Regions from separate parts of the Homo sapiens genome. Here all the other regions are linked to region 1. Evidence: promoter capture Hi-C in 16 types of primary human blood cells and fetal thymus (Javierre and others, 2016). All regions are on one chromosome and are shown on one strand. Each heading gives the region's core, a stretch centred on a gene start or on the middle of the fragment in contact. The rest is flanking DNA. Distances are from core to core; before and after follow the strand shown. Region 1 holds the start of UBR4 (ubiquitin protein ligase E3 component n-recognin 4). Region 2 overlaps UBR4 (ubiquitin protein ligase E3 component n-recognin 4). Region 3 overlaps UBR4 (ubiquitin protein ligase E3 component n-recognin 4). Region 4 overlaps UBR4 (ubiquitin protein ligase E3 component n-recognin 4).

Evidence for each region. Contacts are between HindIII fragments. The CHiCAGO score rates a contact against its expected background, and 5 or more counts as called.
Region 2: a contact is called between a fragment that was not itself captured here and the fragment with the promoter of UBR4 in region 1, in 8 of 17 cell types (megakaryocytes, erythroblasts, endothelial precursors and 5 more). The highest score is 10.9, in megakaryocytes.
Region 3: a fragment that was not itself captured here is called in contact with the fragment with the promoter of UBR4 in region 1 in 7 of 17 cell types (megakaryocytes, neutrophils, erythroblasts and 4 more); the score reaches 9.9 in megakaryocytes.
Region 4: a contact is called between a fragment that was not itself captured here and the fragment with the promoter of UBR4 in region 1, in 8 of 17 cell types (neutrophils, erythroblasts, megakaryocytes and 5 more). The highest score is 9.7, in neutrophils.

The regions. Positions count from the first base shown.
Region 1 is chr1:19,208,797-19,212,358 of GRCh38, reverse strand. UBR4 (ubiquitin protein ligase E3 component n-recognin 4) reads left to right here and starts at 2,093. Exons shown (of 106, transcript NM_020765.3): 1 at 2,093-2,286. The coding sequence starts at 2,111. It overlaps EMC1-AS1 (EMC1 antisense RNA 1), which reads right to left and starts at 1,973. Exons shown (of 2, transcript NR_135114.1): 1 at 1,800-1,973. RefSeq lists silencers at 1,009-1,078, 2,104-2,423 and enhancers at 1,704-1,753, 2,004-2,053. The HindIII fragment of the contact is 5,774 bases long and covers 1,428-3,562 here.
Region 2 is chr1:19,141,485-19,145,140 of GRCh38, reverse strand. It overlaps UBR4 (ubiquitin protein ligase E3 component n-recognin 4), which reads left to right. Exons shown (of 106, transcript NM_020765.3): 54 at 234-355; 55 at 1,050-1,161; 56 at 3,364-3,494; 57 at 3,617-3,656. Among named protein-coding and RNA genes, the nearest start is that of UBR4, 67 kb to the left of the region's middle. The HindIII fragment of the contact is 1,146 bases long and covers 1,477-2,622 here.
Region 3 is chr1:19,113,284-19,116,881 of GRCh38, reverse strand. UBR4 (ubiquitin protein ligase E3 component n-recognin 4) reads left to right here. Exons shown (of 106, transcript NM_020765.3): 74 at 1,245-1,484; 75 at 1,933-2,071; 76 at 2,812-2,937; 77 at 3,055-3,183. Among named protein-coding and RNA genes, the nearest start is that of UBR4, 95 kb to the left of the region's middle. The HindIII fragment of the contact is 3,762 bases long and covers 80-3,598 here.
Region 4 is chr1:19,094,621-19,098,077 of GRCh38, reverse strand. It overlaps UBR4 (ubiquitin protein ligase E3 component n-recognin 4), which reads left to right. Exons shown (of 106, transcript NM_020765.3): 91 at 798-885; 92 at 1,428-1,555; 93 at 2,426-2,533; 94 at 3,053-3,172. Among named protein-coding and RNA genes, the nearest start is that of UBR4, 110 kb to the left of the region's middle. The HindIII fragment of the contact is 5,286 bases long and covers 1-3,457 here.

The DNA.
Region 1 (3,562 bases), core at 844-3,343:
TTCATTGAATTCCCTGTAACATGACTGTATCATGTCTTTTATCATTTTAAATTTCAGTTCCTTGGCAGACACTTGGGATTAGAATGGAACAAGTATTTTAAGTCCTTCAGTTAATTCATAAAAGTTATTTATTGTTTTTTAGTTTCTATCTTATTTCCTGGACCAGAATATTAGAAGCTTGTGTTTCATCTAGAAGTCTTTTATTAGTCTCTTTTGTCATCTAAATTTATAACATAGATGCCATTCCAAATCTTTGTGGCAACACAAGACCAAACCTCCAGTACTGAAATAAATGTGGCATTTATAAAGGAAGTTCTTTATCTGGAGTGCTCTCTCCCAATCTATTAACCAGAAATATAAAGTATATAATAAATAATTTAGGTAAAGGTGAAAATCTCCCTGTGATAGTTTGCATTTGCCTTTTATTCTCCTGGAGAGGGAAGGGAGGACAGCAGATACATTTGATCTTTTATTTCCTGAAATTTCTCCAAGACAGCTTTTGCAGATTAATTTTGTCCTCTGGTTAAAATAAAATTCATGTCCCAAAGCCATTATAAAATTCTGGGTCTCCAGCCTTTCCTTAGGGCTCTGGTTCAGTATCTTGAAATACTGCAATATTTATAGTGTTATGGAAAGTTCTTTTTCATTTCTGATGTTTTTATGTTTAAGAAACTTGCTGTTATTATTATCCTCTGGTAAGTAGGCACTGAAGGAAAATCCCTACTGCTGTCATCAAAGCCACATTTTCCTCCAAGACCGGCTTTGACTTGACTGAATTTTATTTCGAATGTAAAGATGCAGGCTGGGCGCAGTGGGTCAAGCCTGTAATCCCAGCACTTTGGGAGTCCAAGGTGGGAGGAACCTAGGACTTCGAAAACAGCTTGGGCTACGTAGGGAGACCTGTCTCTTAAAAACAAACAAAAAAAATTAAGAGTGGTGGCCTGCACCTGTATAGTCTCAGCTACTGGGGAGGCTGAGGCTGGAAGATCACTTGAGCCAGGGAGGTGGAGGCTGCAGCCAGCTGCAACTCTGCCACTGCACTCCAGCCTGGGCTATTGGGCGACAGAGCAAGATCCTGTCTCAAAAAAGGTAAAGTAGGTCATATCTTAATAAAAGTGCAGATTAATCACTAGGTACCAATTCATTTATCAGTGTTACACACCAAGAACAAAAGCTCTTCCTAAACTTAGGGGGAGAATTTCAGGGCTTTAGGAATTTGAAACCGTCTTCACAGTTCCTTCCCAGTCTTATTTAGGCCAGCTGTAGGCCACAGGCTAGAGCTTGAAGCCGTCCACCAATATCTCACTCACAGGACTGTCCTTAATGCACGAATACCTTTCCTCGAGCAAACTGCTTTTCCCTCTTAGACCTTGTAGCCAGATCATTTTACCGGCAAAAGTCTCAGACATCTCCTGTGAATAAAAGCTTACATTCTTTCCTTGCCAGTAGAAAAAAGGGGAACACGTAAGCATACGTGGCAAATTGCAAAGAGGGATGCATTGTACGAGCTGGTCAGATTGTTAATGAGGGCAATCCAAACAGAAGAGATTTGAGTGCTAAGGGAATACGGATCAGTGATTAAAAGGTGTTGTGAGAGGGAGAAATCTTTGTAAACTATGGCGCTCTTTAGTATTACTATTGGGGGGATCTAGGCAGGGGAAGAAGCAGGTGAAAGCGTTTTAGGCTTCGGCCTCCTCTTGTCGTCCTTAGCTGTCCCAGGCCAGGGCCATTCTATACGCCGAGGCGTAGTCAACTCTGCTGCCCTAGACTTGCCCACTGAACCCATGCCCCAGACTCACCTTTACCCGCTGCCCGGAAGCCAAGTCGCTACCACCTGCTTGAGCAACTCCCACCGCGCAGGCTCAGAAGTTAACGCTCTCCCGCCTTTCCCCGCTGCGCTACCTTCTGAGCAGGCGCAGCGTCTCCGATCCGTTCCCTCGCCGCGGCTCGACCCCGGTGAGAGCAAAGGCCGCTCCGCGCGTCGCGTTTTTGACCCATGACGGCGGCGCGCAGTCTGACGCGACAGATTGCGTCACTTCCGCCCCCTCCTGGGAGGCGGCGCTGGGCCGGTGGCAAGCCCCCGGAGGGAGCCGCAGTAGTACGACGGAAGATGGCGACGAGCGGCGGCGAAGAGGCGGCGGCAGCGGCTCCGGCGCCGGGGACCCCGGCAACGGGGGCGGACACGACCCCGGGCTGGGAGGTGGCTGTGCGGCCCCTGCTGTCCGCGTCCTACTCCGCCTTCGAGATGAAGGAGTTGCCGCAGCTGGTGGCCTCAGTCATCGAGAGGTACCGGGCGGCGGCTCTGGCGGGCGACGCTGTTGTGGGGGGAGGGGATTTCGAGCCGGATCGTCTGGACCCGCTTTCCGGGCCGCCCCCTGCCCCCTTGAGGATCCCCGCCACAGCCACGGCTTCGGGGTCCCGGGCCCGGGGAGACTGGCTTGCCTGGGTTTCCCTCCGCCAACGCATGTAAATCACCTCTACCTCAGTTTCCCCTCTCGAGCAAAACTTTAGCGGCCTCCCTGCGGGAGGGCGTGGCCGGACATGGTTGAGAGTGAGATGCATTCGCCCTCTTAAGGGAATGTTCACGGGGCTGCCCCTTGGGTCAAGTCACAGATGAGTTTGCATTTCTCGCCCGCACTCATCCTCCTAGCCTGGGCCGGAGCGGAGCCGTACGGTATAATTTAATAACGGTCTCCCCGCGGTGCTGTAATCAGTGGGGGCACGTGCTATTTCTGTGACTGAAGCCACTAGCTACATTGATGACCTCTTTTTACGTTGCACTCCTTGTGCATTCCTACTGTATCGGTCTTTGATTAAAAACATTTCAGTGTGTGTCTGAGAGATCATTTTCCCAGAGGATGTGTGGTGTGTGTGTTCTCTTGCTGCCTCCCATCCCCCTCGCATTAAAATATCATCACATTCTTTTACAAACGGTACTATCTGTTGGTTTCCTTTTGTGTGTTTTTGTCTTTTTGCACAGCGATTCTTAGCTAGTGACAGTTATGTAGGTACAAAGATGGTGATCTCAGAGTGCCTGCCTTTTCCTGACATACTGTGCTCAGAGCAGTCTTTCATTAGTTTAATGGTAGACTTTTGCTTTTAAAGCCAGACTGACTTTCATTTTTCTAGCCATACCTCATTTCAGCAACTCCCTGCAATTGTTAACTGGGTCATTTTAGCTTCACGATGACAAGGGTATATCTAGCTGCTATCCAGAGGTTAAAAATTGCTATTTGTTACTCAAAGGAGGCCCACGGTTTGACAAATTGTTTTTGTGCTTTTTCTTGTTGTAGACTTGTAATCCTTTGGATGCAGAGTTTTTAACAAATTATAATAAAATAATGGTTGAGTTTGGTAACTTCACAGTCAGCTTTACAGACGGATTTTGCTATCTAATCATCAGGCCAGGAATGTTCTGAAGATGTAAACAGGTTTCAAATATACTACTTTCAAATTACGTGGCTGCTTTTTGTTTTAAACATTTGGATTGGCAGTATTTTTCCTGACTCATACTCATGTTACGTAGAATCAGTAACGTTCCAGTCTTTTTAGAGCATTTGCT
Region 2 (3,656 bases), core at 800-3,299, 67 kb after region 1:
TCAAGATATCTGGAAAGACTTTTGAGGACAATTTGGGAGTTTAGGAAACTGTTAATGAAACAAATCATAAATAATACAGGCTACTGTGTGTGAATGAGTGTGTATGTGAGTGTTTGTCATTTTGTTTGCATGACCTTTTACATGGAGATAAAAGGTTACACTTTTGTCTCAGACTCTCAAGTAGTTAGAGTTTTTTCCTCCAGATTTTCAAATAATGTTTGTCTCTCCTTTAGGACTAACTCATATTGAAGCTACTGTCAATGCTCTGGTGGACATCATCCATGGCTACTGTACCTGTGAGCTGGATTGTATTAACACAGCATCCAAGATCTACATGCAGATGCTCTTGTGTCCTGTACGTAGCATTACAATCCCAGAGAGCTCGCAGCAGCCAGGGAATATCTGGAAAATTGTTTTTAGCTTGCTAAGCTAATGAAATAAAATATATTTAGAGGAAGCTGAAGGGAATGAAGTTTCAAATATCAATAAAAGCTTTAAGATCTTACTCCATGGAAGAGAAAGATTTGGAAAGGGGATGGGCTCAGTCTTTCTTATTCAGTGCTGAATCACCAGGGACAGCCTACTGCTTGCTACATAGTAAGTGCTAGGTAACTCGGTGAATTGTGACTTAAATGAGCACATGAATGAAAGTAGTACATCAAGATTTCTATTTCCAGTGACCCTTTCACAGAAGCTAAGTGTTAAAACTACTGATTTTAGCACAGAGCTAAGACGTGCGCTGGGGGCTTGATCATCTGATAAAAAGCCAGAACCATTTGTAAGGGGCCAAAATGGCCTCAGGAGCAAATGACCTGCCAGTCCATCCCCAGGAACTGAGAGACAGGAGGTTAGCGAATGGCTCTTAATGTGTGCCAGAACAGGAAGCGGGGATTAACTTAACCTGCTGAACTTGGTCCGCTGGGTTGCAGGTGAGAGTAGAGAGGTATTCCACTTGCATGTGAGTGAGTGACCAAGAAAGGAAAGTGTTTTATAGAGAGTTTCATGAATAATATGAGAGCAAAGCGTGACAGTTTCCTTTTAAACCTCAGGATCCTGCTGTGAGCTTCTCTTGTAAACAAGCTCTAATTCGAGTCCTAAGGCCCAGGAACAAACGGAGACATGTGACTTTACCCTCTTCCCCTCGAAGCAACACTCCAATGGGTAATATGAGGTCTGGGTTTAGGCTCAAGCCTGTATTTGGGAGGAGGGGAGAGAGGGAGGTACAGTAGCATTGGGCATGCTGCTCATGTTGACCAAGGTCCTGGAGACTTTATGTATCTGTCTTTTTTCTAATCCTACCTCACCCCATAAAGAATTTAGGTGGCACATCAAAATGTATATAGTAAGTAGGATAAAAATAAAGATTAAAGGCCATGGGAAAATAAAAGTACCATAGTAAAATCAAAATACAGAAAATTCACATCACAAAGGTCCTGCATGGTTGGTAAGCGAGGGTCTTATATTTGGCTGAAAGCTTCCTAAGAGCCATAGCAAAAATAAAATCACAGTGACCAAAGACAAAACAGAAACATAACTTTTCTTGGGATAGAAGCTCTTCATTAAATGTCCATTTTGTTGCCAAAGGGGCAGAATCCTTAGTGGACTTACCTACAATAAGTTGGATAGCAAATTTCACAGGAATTTCCCTCACAATACACAGTACACAATACACAATACACAATACAGTCAAGGGCATAACATTTTACGATTCAGTAAAAGCAATTCTAAAAGGTGTCTGAATAACAGAATTATATAATTCTGGTTACTTGGCTTGATTTAGAAGTAAATTTCAAATGAAAGTCACTATGTACTTTTAAATTTTCTTTCTTTCTTTCTTTCTTTCTTTCTTTCTTTCTTTCTTTCTTTCTTTCTTTCTTTCTTCCTTCCTTCCTTCCTTCCTTCCTGCCTTCCTTCCTTCCTTCCTTTCTTTCCTTCCTTCCTTCCTTCCTTTCTTTCTTTTTTCTTCCTTCCTTCCTTTCCTTTCCCTTCCTTCTTTCTTTTCTTTTCTTTTTTTCTTTTCTCTTTCTTTCTTTCTCTCTCTCTCTCGTCTTTTTTCAGAGTCTCACTGTGTCACCAAGGCTAGAGTGCAATGGTGCCATCTCAGCTCACTGCAATCTCTGCCTCCCTAGTAGCTGGGATTATAGGCGCGTGCCACCGTGCCCAGCTAATTTTTGTATTTTTAGTAGAGACAGGGTTTCACCATGTTGGCCAAGCTGGTCTCGAACTCCTGACCTCAAATGATCCGCCCGCCTCGGCCTCCCAAAGTGCTAGGATTATAGGCGCGAGCCACTGCTCGGCCTGTACTTTTAAATTTTCTAATAGCAATATTATAAAGAGTAAAAAGTAAAATTGATTTACTAATTATTTAATCCAGTATATCAAATATTATATCTACATCTTGTCAATATAAAAAATTTATTAGTGAAATATTTTGCCTGTTTTGGTACCATTTTGGGAATCCAGAATGTATTTTACACTAGTGGCACATCTCCTTTTAGACAGCCATGTTTTAAGTGCTCAGTAGTCACATGTGGCTGGTGGACAGTGCACATCTAGAGGATTGTACACAACTTTGTGACTTTCAGAAAATCTTCCTTGCATATCATTTATCTTGCCTAAGCTTTTGGGTTAGGCAGCAGTTTGTGGCTCTTTTCCCTAGCAAGAACCTAGAGTGGAGATAGTTTATGTTTCTAACGGACATATTTACAAGCTTTAGCAATCCATCGAGTGGAAGGTGAGGTCTCTATCCTCTTCTGACAATTAGGAGTCTCACCTGGACATCTTCCTTATTAGAAGGCCTTCTCACCTTCACACAAAAGTGGGCACAGGCAGGACCTGCAGTGGTGTCCTTGGTTTCCAGTCAATGGTTTTACACTTCAATTCTGGTTCTTCTCATAGTAATTACGTAGTGTGAAAATCTCACTGACCTAGTTGTTTTAGAAAAAAATAGTGAAATAAATTCTAATCTGCCATGACAGACAAAAGGTAAAGATCCCAATCATATGATTTTTCCTGTCTTATCCAAGGTCTCCTGAGAGTTAGCGTGAGTTTGGGAGGCCTACTGGTTTTAGATCTCTCACCTTTATGGAAATCCCTTTGGAATCCAAGTTTGTTTCCTTCACCAGCTGGAACATTTTATTTTTGTGGGGGGCAAGCTGTCGCAGCCAACTCCATCTTCCCAGATGCTGTAGGTCCAAGAAGTAAGAGAACAAGGCCAGGCATAGCACCCCGGAGTTCTCCCGCTAAAGCCCAGGGTGCTAGCTGGTAGCTTGTCTTGGGTTTTTGTTGCCACCTGACTTATGGCACCATGTGCCAAGGGAGGAAAGCAAGCACCTTCAGGTGACTGGGGTTTCTTTGACTCAGGAGACAAGGATGATGATGACGATGATGATGCAGATGAGAAAATGCAGTCATCAGGGATCCCGAATGGTGGTCACATCCGTCAGGAAAGCCAGGAACAGAGTGAGGTGGACCATGGAGATTTTGAGATGGTGGTGAGTCTCTGGCAGCAGGAGAAGGGGAGGAGGAGCTTCACAACTCTCCTCTAGCTCTTATTCAGTGGACTTCCAAAAGTTACCACTTACCATGGGACACTGACAGAGCTTTCTCTCTGCAGTCTGAGTCGATGGTCCTGGAGACAGCTGAAAATGTCAACA
Region 3 (3,598 bases), core at 711-3,210, 95 kb after region 1:
TTGGGAAGTAATTGTCATTTCTTGGATTAAGACAGCTATGCTCTTGCTCACAGGGCAGAAAGTTATTTCTCAAGAAGCTTCTTTAGTACACACACTCTTCGATTTCCACATGGTGCCTTTTCTCTGTATCTGCTGATACTGGATCTTCCTAGCCCATGTATCCCAGTGACTGAACCAGGGCATGTCATATTTAGGCCAAGAGAGGCACTCACATGGGTTATAGTGTTGACTTTCACAGAGACAGATCGCCTTTTTTTGAACTCTCAGGCATTGCTACTGAAGGGAGAACACAGGTTGACACTACTTGAATAGTAAGACTTACAGAGCTGTTCTGCACACAGGATGGAAGTATTGCTGTTATTCCAAGAGGCAGAATAAGGCTCATGTACCACAGCAACACGTGGCCATGAAGGCTGCCTAGGGAGGTTTTCTCTTCTTGCCTTGAAAAGCCTAGTTTAACCTTGGTGACCTGAAAGTAGATGCTGCACATTAGGGTGGCCCATTCCCCTCCAGAGGAGGTGGGTTTGATTTTTCATTGTGTGGAGTCAGCAGAGCTACTGGTAGACTATTTGGGTTCAGATCCCAGCTCTGCTACATAGCTCTGTGACCTTAGAGAAGCTGCTTAACCTCAGTTTCTGTAACTATAAAATGGAGGTAGGACCCCACTTCCAGGGTTTAAGGATTAAATGAGTTAGTATGTGTCAGGTGCTGAGAACAGAGCCTAGTACATAGTAAGTACTCAGTAAATATTAGCTCTCATTGTGTTATATAATCACCCCAAAATTATTACATACCTTCCTCTTTATGACTTGACTTAGCACTTGGTTCAGACCCTGATTTTCTTCCTCTGCCTCTCTAAAATAGCCTGGGTTTATCTTTCCAAGGTTGCTGTCAGGATGGGAACTTGGCATGCATCATCATTGCACCTCTTACAGGCTTCAGTGTGGCATGCTTTTGGAGTCATGGTTTCCCTTGTTATATACTTCTGTTGTTTTCCTGGAATTTCAAAAGGTATCATGTATAACAGCTTAAAGCACTTGTATGTTCTTTCCTTTTTTTATAGAGAAAAGGTAGTAGAAAACTTTTTTAAAACTGGCTTCCTATTATATGCCAGATTTCTTTTCCTTAGAGTAACCACTTAATTGCCTTAGAAAAATACATGGGACAGTCTTCCTCTTTGTCTCATCAGACTGTTATCACTGAGGGTTAGATGAGAAAATCTCAAGGCTGTCTGTCTTTCCTAGGCCAGCTCGCTGGCACAAAGCCAAGAAGGTTCAGCTGACCCCTGGACAGACAGAGGTGAAGATTGACCTGCCGTTGCCCATTGTGGCCTCCAATCTGATGATTGAGTTTGCAGACTTCTATGAAAACTACCAGGCCTCCACAGAGACCCTGCAGTGCCCTCGCTGTAGTGCCTCGGTCCCTGCCAACCCAGGAGTCTGTGGCAACTGTGGAGAGAATGTGTACCAGTGTCACAAATGCAGGTAAGTCATTGGTCATCCCCTAGGCCAGGGCTGTGCACATTCCTTGTTATTTTTCTGTAGTAGTGTCAGTGTGAGCAATTACAGTGTCTGATTCCCTCAGAACATTTAGAGAATTATGGGTTTGTAGAGTGGGTTCAAGGGTAGAAAGGGAGGAGGAAGAAGAGAGAGTGAGTGAGTGTGTGTGTGTGTGTGTGTGTGCATGTGCACACGAGTGTGTCTGTCCTGTGGCAGGGGTGGAGGGTAAGGGCGGAGGGAGGTCCAGAAGTTTAGCTCTGGGTCTTGCTTTCTTGTTACCTGGCTGCTTAAGTCATTCATTTGTTATTGTCCCTTCAGTAGCCCCTGCAGTAGTTACCAGAGTATATAAATGTGGCACAATCCATTTCCTCAGAGTGACCCCCACCCCACCCAGCCTTGTCACCTTACTGACCCAAACGCTTTGGTTACTCAGATCCATCAACTACGATGAAAAGGATCCCTTCCTCTGCAATGCCTGTGGCTTCTGTAAATATGCCCGCTTCGACTTCATGCTCTATGCCAAGCCTTGCTGTGCAGTGGATCCCATTGAGAATGAAGAAGACCGGAAGAAGGTGAGGCCAGATCTGGCCTAGACTCAGGGCTGTGGCCTTGATCTGGACTTTGGGCAGACCTGGTGCAGTGCAGTGCACTTTACTTTCTAGCCTAAGCCTTCTTCGACTCAACACCAGTTTCAGGGCCCAGCTTTTGGGTGGGAGCAAAGAATGGCATGAGGTATATTGTATTGAAAGACATGGTTTGCATAGGATTTTAGAAAAGTGTTGATTGGTAATGAAACTAGAGTATCTCCAGGTACAGATAACTTTGGATTTGGATGCTTTGCCCTGCATTTCTTCCACAGACTGCTTCATATTGAGGCTGCTGGCCCTCCCTCAGTATTAGATTGTCCAGTGCTAGTTCCCAGCCTGCATAATATGGGCAGGGGCGGGGGGAGGTTCTAGATATTAAAGAACAGTGAAAAAGGGGCACCTATAGGGTTAACAGAAGAACATTTAGCTTTGGAGTCAGAAGGACAGAAATTCTAATTCCAGCCATACTTTTAATACTTGTGTAACCTAGTATAAGTTACTTCTCTCAGCATTGTATTATTATATATCACAGATGTGTATTGTATTTTTATTAGAAATAATATACCCACCTCACAGGAAAGATTATTGTGAAGAACAGAGATAATGTATGAAACACAGTGCCTGACCTATAGGAAATGTTCTGGTAAATGGTTAGCAGTGAGGATTACTCAGGGAAAGTCATCAGCCAAAAAGCCTTCACTCAGTCCCTGTCTTTTCCTGTCTAGGCTGTATCCAACATCAATACACTTTTGGACAAAGCTGATCGAGTGTATCATCAGCTGATGGGACACCGGCCACAGCTGGAGAACCTGCTCTGCAAAGTGAATGAGGCAGCTCCAGAAAAGCCACAGGTAGTCCCACGCTGCAAAGGGCATTTGGATAAGGGCTTGGGTCTTGATCAGAAGACTGCCTCCTAGGTGAGATCACCTTAGGTGGGGAGCCTGACAGCTTACCTCTTGGGGTTGCAGGATGACTCAGGAACAGCAGGGGGCATCAGCTCCACTTCTGCCAGTGTGAATCGTTACATCCTGCAGTTGGCTCAGGAGTATTGTGGAGACTGCAAGAACTCTTTTGATGAACTCTCCAAAATCATCCAGGTAGAGAGCGGGGAGCAGCTTTTGGGTGTGTTTTGTCCAAGTGTTACTGGTGTTGTTTTCACAGCAGTCCTGCTGCTCTCTCATCTAGCAGTCCAGGTCTTGGTGTTGTCCCTGCCCAATCTAGCTGAAAAGGCAGGCAGATGGCTGCACCAAACGGCATCTCCCCCACCGTGATTTATGGCGCTGGTCAGAATGCTGAGTTCATGCTAGATAACTGAACATACTGGTGATGGGAAGGTAACACAGATAAGGGTTTTTTTTAGCCATTAACAACCCATCTCTTAGTAGAGGGGTTACTGGTCTTAAAAAATTTGATGCCAAGATTCTGTTCCCTCTTCTGATAACGCCGTGTTTGCAGGCTGTAGGGTAAGGGCATACCAACTGCAATCAACCAGGGTGGGCCTTGTGTCAGTTG
Region 4 (3,457 bases), core at 958-3,457, 110 kb after region 1:
CCACTGGATTTCATCAGTGGTTACTTTGAGCTCCAATTTCTAGTCTGCAAAATGAGAATAATATTAATATATGTGCTCAGTGCCAGACATACAGGGAACTTTCCTTATTCTCCAATTTAGTGAAGTTGCTGTAATTTTGTCATTTATAAAAGACTTGATTCTTATCATTCTAGTCAGATTGTGGGTTTAGCTTAAAGAATTGTGGATGAACCCCCTCCTTGTATGGTTATATAAAGACGTCTGAATCTCTGTAGGTAAAGATTGATGTACTCTCTTTTCCTGTTTTGATTCCCGAGGCTTGAGTCAAAGCTCTTTGATTTAAATGGCCTTGTTTGTCCTGGGTAGTAGTCCCTATTGATTGGAGACAGTTTCTACTCCTGAGGAAGGTCCAGGCTTGGAATTAGACCTCCGCTTATAGCTTGGTAACCTTGAACAAGCTGTGTAACCTTATGTAAAAGGATCATAGAAAGTACTTAATTAGCATAGGACCTGGCACAGAGTAAAACATTCAATAAATATTTGTTAGATTATTACATAGTGTTCTAATGAAATTGAAGGAGATAGTGTCTTTAAAATGTTTCATACAATGTCTAGCTTCTAGTAGACACAAAATAAAATTAGCATTCTTTCCCCTAAGTGAATTGCTGTGCATTTGGATTCTAGATGTTGTGGTTGAGACTTTGTAGAAAAATAGAGGCTCTCCACATTGCTGGGGCTTTAAGCAAGACCAAGTATGGAGTCCTTTGCATTTGTCTGGGCCTGTTTTTAAGTACCTTTCTCCAACTTTCTCTGCTCAGGGAGAGCCCATGAGGATTGTTTATCGTATGCGGGGGCTGCTGGGCGATGCCACAGAGGAGTTCATTGAGTCCCTGGACTCTACTACAGGTAGATCATGGCACTGCACATTGGATCTGAGGCTTGGGACTCATGAGCGGCTCACGTCCCAGGACTTAGGGGCATTCTCAGTTGCTTCTCTCTTGTACCTCTGCATCAGAATTGTGGGGAGATTGTTTCTTCAATTGAGGAAAAAAAGAGGTGTCTGTGGCATGATGCAGATACCACTGAGTGTTCAAAAAAAAAAAAAAGAATACCAGCAAACTTTTAGAGGAAAATGCAATGAACAGTAAACTGGAGTTCAGATTTATTTTTAACTCCCTCTCCCCCCACTCCATTGATGGTATTGGTGCTCATACTTTGACATTTGAGTAAGTAATTTTAATTGACTTGAAACTTTAAAAAAGCTCCTACTGAGAGTGGGACAGTTTAATATCATCCATCATTGACCCCTTTTATTGGCCGTGTCTTTATTGGAGATACGGAAAAGGGCTGTCAGCCATCAGCCAGGAATAGGGCTGTCTTATCCTGGCCTATTTTATTCCCATCTTCACCTTACCCTCCATTTCTGCTTGGCTTCCCTTCTCCCCTAGATGAAGAAGAAGATGAAGAAGAAGTGTATAAAATGGCTGGTGTGATGGCCCAGTGTGGGGGCCTGGAATGCATGCTTAACAGACTCGCAGGGATCAGAGATTTCAAGCAGGGACGCCACCTTCTAACAGTGAGTTGGGGGCAGCAAGTTGTGGGGGCCAGCCTTTCTGCACTGGGAGAGGCCCCTGTGGAAAGAAGCTATGGCCACTGTGTCATTTTACCCTAGAGGGCAGCATGGTGCCGTGGAGCAGTGCGAGCCAGTGAAGGACCTGGCAGTTAGGACTACATTCTTAGGCACACCTTTTCCCGTCCTGCTGGCCCACTTCCCTTCTCCAATACCTCTCTATAGAGCCAGCATCTGACTGTCTTTCCCCAAATAGCTGCACTTGTGTTAACTATTATCATTGTTGTTGTTTTTAAAATGGATTTTGTAATGTAACTCATTTCTTGCATTGTAGGGTTTTGTTTGGGTATTCATCCAACTAATCTCCTTAGTGAGGATTAGAGCATTCCAGAGAGGCACCACAAATACTACACTGTTATTTTCACTACTCCCCACCCCCACTCCCCCAGGGTTTATGAGAATATGTATTATTGTTATTATTGTGCCTTTGTTTTAAATGACCTATGTGGTTCTGAGCTCTCACAGGCCACGAGCTTTGGGATCATTTTCTTTACTATTAGTTTAGGGTCTGAGTTGATGCTGGGATTTCCCCCAAGACAACAAACAGAGCATCACCTCTTCCATTAGGAACTGCTGTCATTGCCGTTGTATTAGAGATGGTAGAGATATATCCCGCCATTGGAGCTACCAGCCTAATGTGAGAGCCCAGCCATCTCACCATGTCCCCTGAAGAGCCGCTTCTCCCTCCTGTCCTCTTCATTTCAGGAGGAGCCCCTGCTGATGGTGTAGACCCTGCTTAGACATCCCTTTCCTACTGGCCCCCATGTCCTACACTCTCATGTGGCCTCATGGGTTTTGACTGGCTTTTCTTGTCAGGTGCTACTGAAATTGTTCAGTTACTGCGTGAAGGTGAAAGTCAACCGGCAGCAACTGGTCAAACTGGAAATGAACACCTTGAACGTCATGCTGGGGACCCTAAACCTGGTAAGGAGCATGGACTGCAGGTGAAGAAGAGTGGGCCTTGGAAGTCTGGGTGTGAAAGACCTCTCAGTTCTGGGCTCAGATGAAATGGACTCACGGCTTCTTCAAGCCCTTCATCTCTCTGGCTGACTGGTGCAGAGGCTTGGGTCATTCAGCTGCCCTTCTCCTCTGGCTGGCTCACCTCCTGCCCCCATGCTGCTGCCATGGCACTCAAGAGCTTCCTTGCTCCTTTCCTGAGTTCAGATCAGAGATAAGAGGAAGGCAGTCCCTTAAACAGTCTAGACTACACACCAGTGGGAAAGAAGTGCCCCTCTCCTTGGGGCAGCAAAGCTGCCTGTCATCAAAAGCTCACACGCTTGTCTCCCTCTCAGAACATGCATATACACGCACATACATACACACGGTCATACACACATGGTCTCTGGGGAGTAAGGCTGTGAGGGCATCCTTGAGAGCAATTGTCCTCAGCAGTTAGTGGCTGTGGTCTTATTCTGAGAGTGACTGAGTCTCCTTCTCCTACAGGCCCTTGTAGCTGAACAAGAAAGCAAGGACAGTGGGGGTGCAGCTGTGGCTGAGCAGGTGCTTAGCATCATGGAGATCATTCTAGATGAGTCCAATGCTGAGCCCCTGAGTGAGGACAAGGTGAGTGGGGCTCGGCCCCTCCATCTGCAGGCACTGAGAGCCTGCACTGTCTCATTGCCCACAACAGGCCTGTTTGTGTCTGGCTTAGCCCACCTGAGAATGGCGGAGCCTGCTTAAGCATTGGAATGTTAGGACTCAACTAATGATGACATAATTGTATCGAAATGTGAAATCTTTGGATTCAGAGCAAGCACAATTGCTAAGGATAGTCTTTCACTCAAAAGCTGCTCGTTAATGGAATCCTGGCATGTCTCAGTTGATAGACAGAGGCTTTAGTCCAACCTT